4 separate regions of the Homo sapiens genome follow, and all the other regions are linked to region 3. The links are contacts of gene promoters, found by promoter capture Hi-C in blood cells and fetal thymus (Javierre and others, 2016). All regions are on one chromosome and are shown on one strand. Each heading gives the region's core, a stretch centred on a gene start or on the middle of the fragment in contact. The rest is flanking DNA. Distances are from core to core; before and after follow the strand shown. Region 1 holds the start of TRA-TGC3-2 (tRNA-Ala (anticodon TGC) 3-2). Region 2 overlaps ATP6V0A2 (ATPase H+ transporting V0 subunit a2). Region 3 holds the start of RPLP0 (ribosomal protein lateral stalk subunit P0). Region 4 holds the start of MTRFR (mitochondrial translation release factor in rescue).

Evidence for each region. Contacts are between HindIII fragments. The CHiCAGO score rates a contact against its expected background, and 5 or more counts as called.
Region 1: a contact is called between a fragment that was not itself captured here and the fragment with the promoter of RPLP0 in region 3, in 1 of 17 cell types (M0 macrophages). The highest score is 7.3, in M0 macrophages.
Region 2: a contact is called between a fragment that was not itself captured here and the fragment with the promoter of RPLP0 in region 3, in 1 of 17 cell types (total B cells). The highest score is 5.5, in total B cells.
Region 4: a fragment that was not itself captured here is called in contact with the fragment with the promoter of RPLP0 in region 3 in 2 of 17 cell types (naive CD8 T cells and non-activated CD4 T cells); the score reaches 7.2 in naive CD8 T cells.

Annotation. Positions count from the first base shown.
Region 1 is chr12:124,919,685-124,922,696 of GRCh38, reverse strand. It overlaps TRA-TGC3-2 (tRNA-Ala (anticodon TGC) 3-2), which reads left to right and starts at 871; the gene lies at 871-942. RefSeq lists enhancers at 1,076-1,395, 962-1,640, 1,476-1,665 and a cis regulatory region at 1,250-1,420. The HindIII fragment of the contact is 6,001 bases long and covers 1-3,012 here.
Region 2 is chr12:123,714,685-123,717,750 of GRCh38, reverse strand. The region is part of intron 1 of ATP6V0A2 (ATPase H+ transporting V0 subunit a2); the gene reads right to left. LOC105370042 (a long non-coding RNA gene) reads left to right here. Exons shown (of 3, transcript XR_945477.4): 2 at 2,188-2,251; 3 at 3,017-3,066. Among named protein-coding and RNA genes, the nearest start is that of ATP6V0A2, 3.9 kb to the right of the region's middle. The HindIII fragment of the contact is 5,850 bases long and covers 1-3,066 here.
Region 3 is chr12:120,199,711-120,202,525 of GRCh38, reverse strand. It overlaps RPLP0 (ribosomal protein lateral stalk subunit P0), which reads left to right and starts at 1,415. Exons shown (of 8, transcript NM_001002.4): 1 at 1,415-1,443; 2 at 1,695-1,796. The coding sequence starts at 1,743. It overlaps PXN-AS1 (PXN antisense RNA 1), which reads right to left and starts at 1,235. Exons shown (of 4, transcript NR_038924.1): 1 at 1,100-1,235. RefSeq lists enhancers at 900-1,259, 1,660-1,729, 2,770-2,815. The HindIII fragment of the contact is 6,201 bases long and covers 1-2,815 here.
Region 4 is chr12:123,233,342-123,236,253 of GRCh38, reverse strand. It overlaps MTRFR (mitochondrial translation release factor in rescue), which reads right to left and starts at 2,818. Exons shown (of 3, transcript NM_152269.5): 1 at 2,723-2,818. It also overlaps a transcript of MPHOSPH9 not described here. The HindIII fragment of the contact is 3,144 bases long and covers 1-2,894 here.

The sequences.
Region 1 (3,012 bases), core at 255-2,754, 4.7 Mb before region 3:
GTGGTGGTGCACGCCTGTAGTCCCAGCTACTCGGGAGGCTGAGGCAGGAGAATCGCTTGAACCCAGGAGGCGGAGGTTGCAGTGAGCCCAGATCATGCCACTGCACTCCAGCCTGGGCGACAGAGCAAAACTCTGTCTCAAAACAAACCAACCAACCAAAAACTAAAAGCCTCTCGCACTCCCGTGTGTATTGCAGCTTTATTCATAAGTGCCTAGATGTGTCCGTCAACAGATACATGGATAGAGAAAATGTGTACATACGCAATAGAATACTATTCGACCTTAAAAAAATACAAAACAAAATGAAATCCTGTCATTTTTCCTCTACGAAACAAAAATAAAAACATGGCTAAGTTTGGGCGACATTACATAAAGTGAAATAAACCGGGCACAGAAAGATAAATACTGCATGATCTCACTCACGTGCGGAAGCTGAAATAGTTGGTCTCACAGAGAGAATAGTGGTTACTGCAGGTAGTGAAGGTGGGGGGAGGTGGGATAGCCAAAGGGGGGTTACTGGATACAAAAGTACAGCTGAATAGGAGGAATAAGTTCCAGTGTCCCTATAGAGTGAATACAACAACTTATTGTACGTTTTCAAATAGCTGGAAGCGTGGATTTTTAATGTCTCCCAGCACAGAGAAATGATACATGTTTGAAGGGATGGATGTGGTCATTGCCCTGATTTGAACATTACAAATTGTGTACATAGATCACAACATCACACCACACCTCATAAATGTGCACAATTGTTATGCGTCCAAACAATAATAAAAACCAAAAATAAAAATGAAACACGTGGAAACAGGAAAAACGCCTTTAAGAATAGAGTATAGCAAGGACTTCCAAAAGCAAGTACAGGAAAGGGAGGGGGATGTAGCTCAGTGGTAGAGCGCATGCTTTGCATGTATGAGGCCCCGGGTTCGATCCCCGGCATCTCCATTGTAGTTTTGTTGCTTTCTGTATTCGTTTTGGTCCGTGGTTCTTTATCATTAAAGTGCCATGGATGTGATTATCATAAGCATTGTGATTCCAGGCACTACTTGGAGCTCAGATTCTCACACCAGGTGTGATCTTCCCATTCTGAAATCTCTAATGTTTCAAATGCACATGAGTTAGAAGAGGCTGATGGGAGTAATCAGCAGAAAAGTGTTAAGGCAAAACCTGACTTGATGACTGAAACCACAGCAAAAGTGAGCAGGATGATCATTTGGGGAGTGTACACCACATCTCGTGCCACCATGATTGTACTGCACTGGCCTCGAGGGCTGTTGACGCATTCTTGGCCATCAGAGGGCAAGTGTGTAAGTTGCTGGAAGGTCTGGGCCCCCCTGTTTGCCATCTCACTCCTCCTCTGCACTGCCACGAACCACCTCATTTGCATGGGAGGAACCCAGAAGCAAACTCACATCCCAGCGGGGCTTTGCTCTCTGCTTCCTCAGCAACACGTCTCCACGGCTGTAATGCAAGTGCAATTTACATTTATATTCATACACTGTGTTCCGGGGTGAGCAGGCCTATGCAAACCTACCCCAAAGGCCAAGGGAGCTGAGAGGCCAAAGAAAGGGGTTGACAAACCCAGTTTCTCAGGAAAAAACATTTATTAGGGACTTACCAACAGAAGCCATAGTCTCAGGGTGGTCATCAGAGGATATAAGGTTTGCTGCGCCATAACCCCCGGCCCAGGGCTTCCATACCATAGGGAAGGAATATATGTAGGACAATTGAAGTTGACCCCTCAAGCAAGGCAAGAATGTTATGTGAATCCGCATAAGGGAAGGATTTATGATCTAGGTTGTTCTGATCTAAGGGCAGAATTTATGGTAACAGTAAAGTAGAAATCTTAGAGACCTTCCTGGAAGAGGCATTAATCGGAAGTTATCTTGGTGGATTAGCAACCAAGATGGAGTTGCTTTCACCTCCACTGTGTTTCTGTGTTTTATCACTGAAAGCAAAAGATGGTGGCTCAGGCCTGTAATCCCAGCACTTTGGGAGGCATGAGGCAGGAGAATTGCTTGAGGCCAGGAGTTTGAAAGCAGCCTGGGCAACAAAGGGAGACCTTGGCTCGGAAAGGAAAGGAAAGGAAAGGAAGGGGAAGGGGAGGGAAAGGGGAAGGGGAGGGGAGGGGAGATTGATTTACTTGCATGAATGATCTTTAGGCAAAAATAAATACATAAAAATAAATTATATTTTTTAAAGTTTAACCAGTTCCCAGCTCTCTAAATAATAATAAGAATGAAAGAAGGGATTCGGCTGCATTCTGTGGTACAGTTCTTTGCAATTATAATGAATTCCTCACCTGTCAGCCCCTTTCTTTCATTTGACTTGACTTCATGTTTTAAATGGTAAAAGCGTCTAATCCTAGATCTAGAGCTTTCATTTTTGAGATGAAGAAAATGAAACTTGCGAACTGACTCACCAGTTAGGTGGTGACGCATTGGTGACAGCTTGTTTCTAATGAGCTTCAGGAAAGGTTATTTCTCCCTAAATGTCAACAAGGTTTTAGGGGAAAATCATTGAAGATAATTTCTGAAGTCATCAGGCCTAACACAAAACTTACATGCTTCTGTAACTGCCCAACAGTTTCTCCTTGCCCGCTGCCTAGACAGAGCCCATTTATTAGGACAGGGAAACTGTGATCCGCCCACCTCAGCCTCCCGAAGTGCTGGGATTACAGGCGCAAGCCACCTCGCCCTGCCATAATAGAGAACGTTTAATTCACACACAGCTGGCAGTGTGGGAGACGGGAGTTTTACTATTACTCAAATCAGTCTCCCTGAAAACTCAGGGATTGGAGTTTTGAAGGATAATTTGGTGTGTAGGGAGGTCGGGAAATCGGGAGTACTGATTGGTTGGGTCGGAGATGAAATCACAGGGAGTCGAAGCTGTCCCTTTGCCCTGAGTCAGTTCCTAGGTGGGGGCCACAAGACCAGATGAGCCAGTTTATCAATCTGGGTGGTGTCAGTCGGCCCACTGAGTGCAGAGTATGCAAAATATCTCAAGCACTGGTCT
Region 2 (3,066 bases), core at 43-2,542, 3.5 Mb before region 3:
AAATTATAGCCAGGCACAGCAGCTCGTGTTGATAATCCCAGCAATTTGGGAGGCTGAGGTGGGAGGACTACCTGAGGCCAGTAGTTTGAGGCCAGCCTGGGCAACATGGTAAGACACCATCTCTCCAAAAAATAAAAAATTAGCCAGGCCTGGTGGTGCACGCCTGTGGTCCCAGTTGCTCAGAAGGCTGTGGCAGGAGGATTGCTTGAGCCCAGGAGATCGAGATTGCAGTGAGCAGTGATCACACCACTGCACTCTAGCCTGGGTGACAAAGCAAGAGCCTGTCTCAAAAAAAAAAAAAAAAGAAAGAAAGAAAAGAAAAGAAATTACAGTCTATATCCACACAATGGAATGCTACTTAGCAATAAAAAGGAATGAACTACTGACCCATGCAACAACAGGGATGACTTTCTCTTTTTTTTTTTTTTTTTTTTTTGAGACAGAGTTTCGCTCTGTTGCCCAGGCTGGAACGTACTGGCAGTATCTTGGCTCACTGCAACCTTCGCCTTCCAGGTTCAAGCGATTCTCCTGCCTCAGCCTCCCGAGTAGCTGGGATTACAGCCAAGTGCCACCACCCCCGGCTAATTTTTGTATTTTTAGTAGAGATGGGGTTTCACCATGTTGGCCAGGCTGGTCTCAAACTCCTGACCTCAGATGATTCGCCCACCTCGGCCTCCCAAAATGCTAGGATTACAGGCGTGAGCCACCACGCCCACCCTGGATGACTTTCATACTAAGTGAAAGCAGCCAGACACAAGAAGCCACATACTGTGCGATTCCACTTACATGGAATGTCCAGACAACCCTAGAGGCAGCAAGCAGATTAGTGGGTGCTGGGGGGGTGGGGGTAGGAATAAGGATTAACTGTAAATGAGCATTAAGAATCTTCTGGGGTGATGGAATGTTCTAAAACAATTGTGGCAATGGATGCATGACTCTATAAACTCTTTTTTTTTTTTTTTGAGACAGGATCTCACTGTCGCCTAGGCTGAAGTCCAGTGGCGCAATCTCAGCTCACTGCAACCTCTGCCTCCCAGGTTCAAGCGATCCTCCTGCCTCAGCCTCCTGAGTAGCTGGGATTAAAGGCACGTGCCACCACACCCGGCTAATTTTTGTATTTTGGGTAGAGATGGGGTTTCGCCATGTTGTTCAGGCTGGTCTCAAACTGGTGGGCTCAAGTGATGTGGCTGCCTCAGCCTCCCAAAGTGCCGGGATTACAGGTGTGAGCCACTGCACCCGGCCTCCATAAACTTTCTAAAAATCATGGGTAAACTCTACCATACACCTCAATAAAGTTGTGTAAAAATGACCAGGTATTTGATTATATTAAGAAATGTTATTTAAATTTTCAGGTACAATGTTGGTAATAATTTTTTATCTTCTAGGCCAGGCCTGGTGGCTCATGCTTGTAATCCCAGCACTCTGGGGGGCCAAGGTGGGGGGATGACTTGAGGTCAGGAGTTGGAGACCAGCCTGGCCAACATGGTGAAACCCCGTCTCTACTAAAAATACAAAAATTAGCCAGGCGTGGTGGCGCGCGCCTGTGATCTCAGCTGCTCAGGAGGCTGAGGCATGAGAATCACTTGAACCTGGGAGGCAGAGGTTGCAATGAGCTGAGATCGCGCCACTGCACTCCATCCTGGGCGACAGAATTGAGACTCCATCTCAAAAAAAAAAAAGAAAAAAAATTCATCTTTTAGAGGTACTTGTTGAAAAGTTAAATTATATATCTTGGATTTGCTTCAAAATGATCTAGTCTGGGAAGTGAGAAAAAACTAAGTTTACATTTATGGGTACATGGGGGTACACTGTACTCTTCCCTCTACTTATAATATAAAGTTTAAAACAATTTTAAAAAGTTGTAAAAGAATATTTAATAAAATTAGGAAGTTAGTCATGATTTCTGTGTAAAGCAGATTAGGATGTTTTCAGTGTGGTTCAAATTATATAAAAATACATATATATGGACATTTTTAAACATTATTAGAGAAATGCTGATTGTCCAGTATTAGCCAAAAAGTTAAAGTTAATTTCTAGGCGTTGGGATCATGCAAGGTATGTTACTATTCTTATGTTTTCCACATTTCTCACAATGGTCATCTATCACTTTCATACTTCAACAATTTACAGTATATCATTCATGTTGAAAGCCATTTAAGACACGAAATTTATCTTTATTCCATCCAGGATTTGTACTGGGCACTCTCAAGAAACAGTTAAGATACAACTTGACATGAAACTGCTCAACCTGGTAAGTGTCTACTCAGTGTCTGACTCAGTTCTTGTTCATTTTTTGGGGACTTTTTTTTTAAAAGAACCAGAAAAAAGGTAAAAATTCTCATTTCACTTCTGTTTGTCACCTTCTCATTCATTTCTGGAGGTCGAACTAAAAGTAACCACTTCCAAGTTACTAATGATTCAGACACAATCTAGTTCTATGGAACTTGTTGGAAAGGAAGTTCTGTGTCTAAAGCTGTCACAGGATACTACTTCTCAGCTTTCATTTTCTTCCTTCAATATCAAATAGTACTTAACTCTAAATGGGCATGATGTTTCTACAAATAGTAGAATCTTTATTTATAAAGAGGTAAATTTCTGTGGCAATAATACAAACATGGATTTCACATACATACACCACCATCACCAGCTTACATATATTAACTTTTTTTTGAGACGGAGTCTCGCTCTGTTGCCAGGCTGGAGTGCAGTGGCGCGATCTCAGCTCACTGCAACCTCTGCCTCCTGGGTTCAAGTGATTCTCCTGCCTCAGCCTTCTGAGAGTAGCTAGGACTACAGGCACACCCCGCCATGCCCAGCTAATTTTTGTATTTTTAGTAGAGACAGGGTTTCACCATGTTGGCCAGGATGGTCTCGAACTCTTGGCCTTGTGATCTGCCCGCCTTGGCCTCCGAAAGTGCTGGGATTACAGACGTGAACCACCGTGCCCAGACATATTAACTTTTTTTTTCTATTGTGTGGTTTCTTTTATAAATTTTGGGTTTTTTTTCCCTTTTAGGGCAGCACCCTAATTCAAGGCTAATGGAATAAGGTACATTTTAATGTAGA
Region 3 (2,815 bases), core at 166-2,665:
GAACTGAGATTGCTCCACTACACTCTAGCCTGGGCAACGGAGTGAGACTGCTTCTCAAAAAAAAAAAAAAAAAAAAAAAAAAAAAAAAAAGATTTGATGGAGGTGAATTATTCTATGGATGTTTGTTGGCTAGTTTTCTAGGAAGAGGGAATGGCTAATGCAAAAGCCCCCAAGTAAAGCCTGCTCTGGAAAAGCAGCAGAGCATCATCTGGGTAGAAAGCAAGTAAGTGAGGAGGAAAACATCTGAGATGATCAGAGTGGGCGTGAGGGACAGATAGGTAAGGGCCTTGTAGGTACTTTAGGTTTTAGATTTTTACTCTGTAGGAAACGGAAAGTTTTAAGCAGATAAGGAGATGAGCTGACTTAGGTTTTTTTTTTTTTTTTTTTTTTTTTGAGATGGAGTCCCTCTCTGTCACCCAGGCTAGAGTGCAATGGTGTGATCTTAGCTCACTGCAGAGCTCACAGCTCCCGGGTTCAAGCGATTCTTCTGCCTCGGCCTCCTGAGTAGCTGGGATTACGGGCATGCGCCACCCCACCTGGCTAATTTTTGTATTTTTAGTAGAGACGGGGTTTTGCCATGTTGGCCAGGCTAGTCTCGAACTCCTGACCTCAGGTGATCCACCCGCCTCGTCCTCCCGAAGTGCTGGGAGTATAGGCGTGAGCCACCGCGCCCGGCCAGGTTTTAAAGGATCCCTCTGTTTTGGTAGGCGGAAAAACTAGAGAAGACGAGAGACCATTCTGAGGCCGGGCGCGGCGGGTCACGCCTGTAATCCCAGCACTTTGGGAGGCCGAGGCGGGCAGATCACGAGGTCAGGAGATCGAGACCATCCTGGAGAACATGATGAAACCCCGTCTCTACTAAAAATACAAAAAAAAAATTAGCCGAGCACGGTGGCGGGCGCCTGTAGTCCCAGCTACTCCGGAGGCTGAGGCAGGAGAATGGCGTGAACCCGGGAGGCGGAGCTTGCAGTCAGCCGAGATGGCGCCACTGCGCTCCAGCCTGGGCGACAGAGCGACACTCCGTCTCAAAAAAAAAAAAAAAAAGAGAAACCATTCTGTTTCTAAGCATGTGCAATTATGTCTCAGCTCCACGTCATACCTTTTAGTTTGCTGAGCTCGCCAGGTGGCACAGGGAACCGGGACTCCGAATTCGCAGCTCCAGCTCCAGCTCCAGCCCAGCAGGTGGCAGCAGCTCAGAGCAAGCTCCTCCAACGCGAGGCAGCGCCTTCCTTCGCGACCCTACTTAAAGGCGGCTTTCCGTTGGCTGGAGTGGCAGCGATATTATCCAATGGTTGCCTGTATTCGTTCAGCTTTGTCTGACGGGCGATGGCGCAGCCAATAGACAGGAGCGCTATCCGCGGTTTCTGATTGGCTACTTTGTTCGCATTATAAAAGGCACGCGCGGGCGCGAGGCCCTTCTCTCGCCAGGCGTCCTCGTGGAAGGTTCGTGTGCTAGTTAGATGGGCGCCAGGGGTCGCCGGCGGGAAGCATGGAGGGGTCTTTGGGGGCCTTTGGGAACATGGAGTCCTATTCTGTTCCGCCTGGGGCCTCGGTGGCGGCTTGCACGCCCCGAGATGACGGCCGCTGCCCTAGGCAGGGCCGGCGGGCGATTGCGCGTGTCCTGCTCCTCTTAGGCCCGGGACCGCGGGATGGGTGTCGGCGTGACCAGGCCTGAGCTCCCTGTCTCTCCTCAGTGACATCGTCTTTAAACCCTGCGTGGCAATCCCTGACGCACCGCCGTGATGCCCAGGGAAGACAGGGCGACCTGGAAGTCCAACTACTTCCTTAAGATCATCGTAAGTGCAGGGTGGGTCGCCTCTGCTCTTCATGTTGCCCCAGCGCAAATAGGGACAGTCAGCTGCTATGTGCTGAGGGTCTACTCACACCGGCTACTGAATTAGGCCATTTTTGGGAAAATACTGTTTAGTTAACAATTTCCTGAGATAGGTCCCTTCTGTTGCAGATAAACGGGCTCAGGCAAGTTAAGTGGGTCCTAAGATGACAGCATTCGTATCCAGGTCTGTCTGGCTTCTAAAAGAGCGCGCTTTATACTTTTTTTTTTTTAAACGGAGTCTCGCTCTGTTGTCCAGGCTGGAGTGCAGTGGCTTGATCTTGGCTTACTGCAACCTCCGCTTCCCAGGTTCAAGCGATTCTCCTGCTTCAGCCTCCCGAGTAGCTGGGATTACAGGGGCGCGACACCACACCCAGCTAATTTTTGTATTTTCAATAGAGACAGGGATTCACCATGTTGGCCAGGATGGTCTCGATCTCTTGACTTCATGATCCACCTTCCTCGGCCTCCCTAAGTGCTAGGATTACAGGTGTGAGCCACCGCGCCCGGCCGCACATTACAGTTTTACTCCATTTTTGAGAAGGTCTGAGGTCAGGAATGACTCATTGTAAGGAAGCAAGCTGTTGCATATTTAGGACCTGTCAGCCAAGAAACTTAAGTGTCCAATGACTTTTGGATGGCCTTTGAGGTGGGTCTCCCTTGCCCAGAAATGCTGACTGTACTGCGCTTAAGCAATTAGGCAGCATTGTAGAGCATAGCTTGTATTACATTTTCCCACACTTAGAAGGTTTTCAGACACAAAACCCAAAGGAATTGTGTAACAATCCGGATAAACACGCCTAGATTGTTTTTACAAATAATAATGTTGCTATATTTGCTTAACGTGGTGCTTTTAATGCTGTGAATCTAGCCCTCCTCTTGACCAACTTACTTGGAACATTCCTTTTTTATCCTGTTAACCATTTTAGTGAATCAGAAGCATGCCTGGTAATTGGGAAAAATTAAAAACTAAGTAAAAAAAGA
Region 4 (2,912 bases), core at 73-2,572, 3.0 Mb before region 3:
ACACTTCCTGATTATCTCAGTAAGACCTATCTTGGAAACCATTAGGTTTTCAATTTTTGAAACTAAATTATCCTTTCTACACCTTGTTTCATTACCTTTCATATCTCCAGATCTTTTTCCAGTTTCTTAGGCAATGTTAGCTCCTTTTCCTTAACTTTTTCTGTTTTAAGTTTTTATTTATTTATTTTTTTGAGACGAGTCTCACTCTGTTGCCCAGGCTGGAGTGCAGTGGCACCATCTTGGCTCACTACAACCTTTGCCTCCCGGGTTCCAGCGATTCTCCTGCTTCAGCCTCCCAAGTAGCTGGGATTATAGGCACCAGCCACCACGCCCAGCTAATTTTTGTATTCTTAGCCCAGATGGGGTTTCACCATGTTGGCCAGGCTGGTCTCGAACTCCTGACCTCAAGCGATCCGCTTGCCTCGGCCTCCCGAAGTGCTGGGAGTACAGGCATGAGCCACCACGCCCGGCCAACTTTCTCTTTTTAAAAAGACTAGTCAAGTACAGTAGAGAAGGGGGAAAGAGTAGAACAAGAAGTTTGATCTGTGACTGTGAACAATTAATTAAGATAACTCACTACCAGGCCGAGCGCGGTGGCTCACGCCTGTAATCCCAGCACCGTGGGAGGCCGAGGCAGGTGGATCATGAGGTCAGGAGATCGAGACCAACCTGGCTAACACGGTGAAACCCCATCTCTACTAAAAATACAAAAAAAAAAAAAATTAGCTGGGCCTGGTGGCAGGCACCTGTAGTCTCAGCTACTAGGGAGGCTAAGGCAGGAGAATGGCGTGAACCTGGGGGGCGGAGCTTGCAGTGAGCTGAGCTCTGTCACACACACACACACAAAACTCACTACGTTTGGACCAGCCTGACTTTCTGTATTTGACGACTCCTCTCATTTTTTCTTTTGTCCCAAAAAGGCCTTCCTGCCAAGGATTGCGAGCTCTGTGGCCAACAGACCTGCGTTCAATGTCTCAATGCCACAATTTACTTACTGGGTAACTTTGGCTCTAATTCCTCATCTGTAGAATGGAGATACTACTACCTAGAGTGCGAACAAAATCATACATGTTGCCATAAATGTAAAGTACTTAGTGGTCACTAAATGGGAGCATGTCAGATCTCTCAACTACAAGGCTGAGGAACTTTGGAATGACACACCACATACACTGTTGTCTTATGACACAAACCCAGTCTGGGAACTGATTATTTCATCGGCCTTTGTTTTAGAGCTTAGGGTGAAAAGGCATCTACAACAGTGGCTTGTAAATTATTTTACTTGGTATGGTCCAATTTAAGAAGTACTTGATAAGCCATGACATTACTGAAAACATGTTATTTGGTGGGATCATAATTCTGGTCTGTGAAATCAGGTACTAAGGAGATCACTGTGATGCCAAAAATATAGCCTGACTTCCCAGCAGGTTCACACTGAAAGATAAAACCATCTTCAATGAAGTAAGTCCTGGTTTAAACATAAAATATCTTTTGGAATTATGTAATATAATTTAAAAAATCATGAAAGATAGGATAACATCAAATTTACCCTTTGAAAATTGCCAGGCGTGGTGGCTCATGCCTGTAATCCCAGCACTTTGGGTGGCCGAGGCAGGAGGATGACCTGAGGTCAGGAATTCGAGACCAGCCTGGCCAATATGGCAAAACCCCGTCTCTACTAAAAATACAAAAAATTAGCCGGATGTGGTGGCGGGCACCGGTATTCCCGGCTACTCGGGAGGCTGAAGCAGAAGAATCACTTGAACCCGGGAGGCAGAGGTTAAAGTGAGCCGAGATCGCGCCACTGCCCTCCAGCCTGGGTGACAGAGAGAGACCTTGTCCCCCCTACCCCCCTCCCCCACAAAAATAAAAAAAGTAAAAAAAAATTGGTAGGTATACTTAGGAAGCTCCAATGAGATGTAACGCCTCCTGGCAGATCTGTTATTCCAAGGGCAGATCCATTTCCTGGGTTGTGGAGGCCTAAGTGATAGTGCCAGGGAAGTCCCTTTACTGTGAGCCAGAACTCCTGGAGGTAAATCGAGTAGCTGGAAAGACCTTAAAGGTTAACTATGCTGAAGAATGTGGCCTGCACAGTGCGCATGAAATGGGCTGGGGTCCCACGGGGAGGAGAGCGAGTTCCCTTTGGTCCTTCAAAAGTAGGGCTGGGTGGCTTGCGCCTGTGATCCCAGCACTTTGGGAGGCCGAGGAAGGAGGATCGCTTGAGGCCAGGAGTTCGAGATCAGCTTGGGCAACACAGTGAGACCCCCCCACCCCACGTCTATTAAAAAAAAAACGAGTATCTCCGCAAAAGCCTAGCAAGGGCAGTGCTGACCTCTACTACGTGCCAGGCCTGAAACAGCACCTGATGCGTGCTCACAGCTCCATTCCGCTCAGTTTTGTACATGAGGATCCTTCCGTTTCGCCTTGGGCCTCCGTGGAACCGTTATCTCCAGGACGGTAGTCTCTCCTCTCCCCTGCCCTGAGTGCCTGAACAGCCCCAGGGCCGACCCACAGCACCTAGCGTAAACCAGGTCCCGAGAAAACTGAGCTCGGGTGTCACGGCCGGCCCCACCCCACCGCCAGCGCGGCCTCAGGTAAACTGGCTGCGCCACTCGGGGTCGCAAGTCGGGAAAAACCCAGGCGTCCCGGCTCGCAGTCCTCTCTCCGGAGCCTTTGACAGTCGTCGGCAGCCGTAGGGTTACCTGGCTTCTCCGCAGATGCTTACCTGGTCTCAGGACCCGACTCGTGCCCTCAACGTTCTAGGGATATCCAAATCACCTCAGCGGAGGATTCGCAATCGCGATCCCTGATCTGCGCACGCGCCGTACTCCGATCGCGGTTTCTCTTATCTACCAGAGGCTCATGTTTACTCACTGCGCATGCGAGAAACTGAAGCTTCTTTCCCTCGTGGCAGC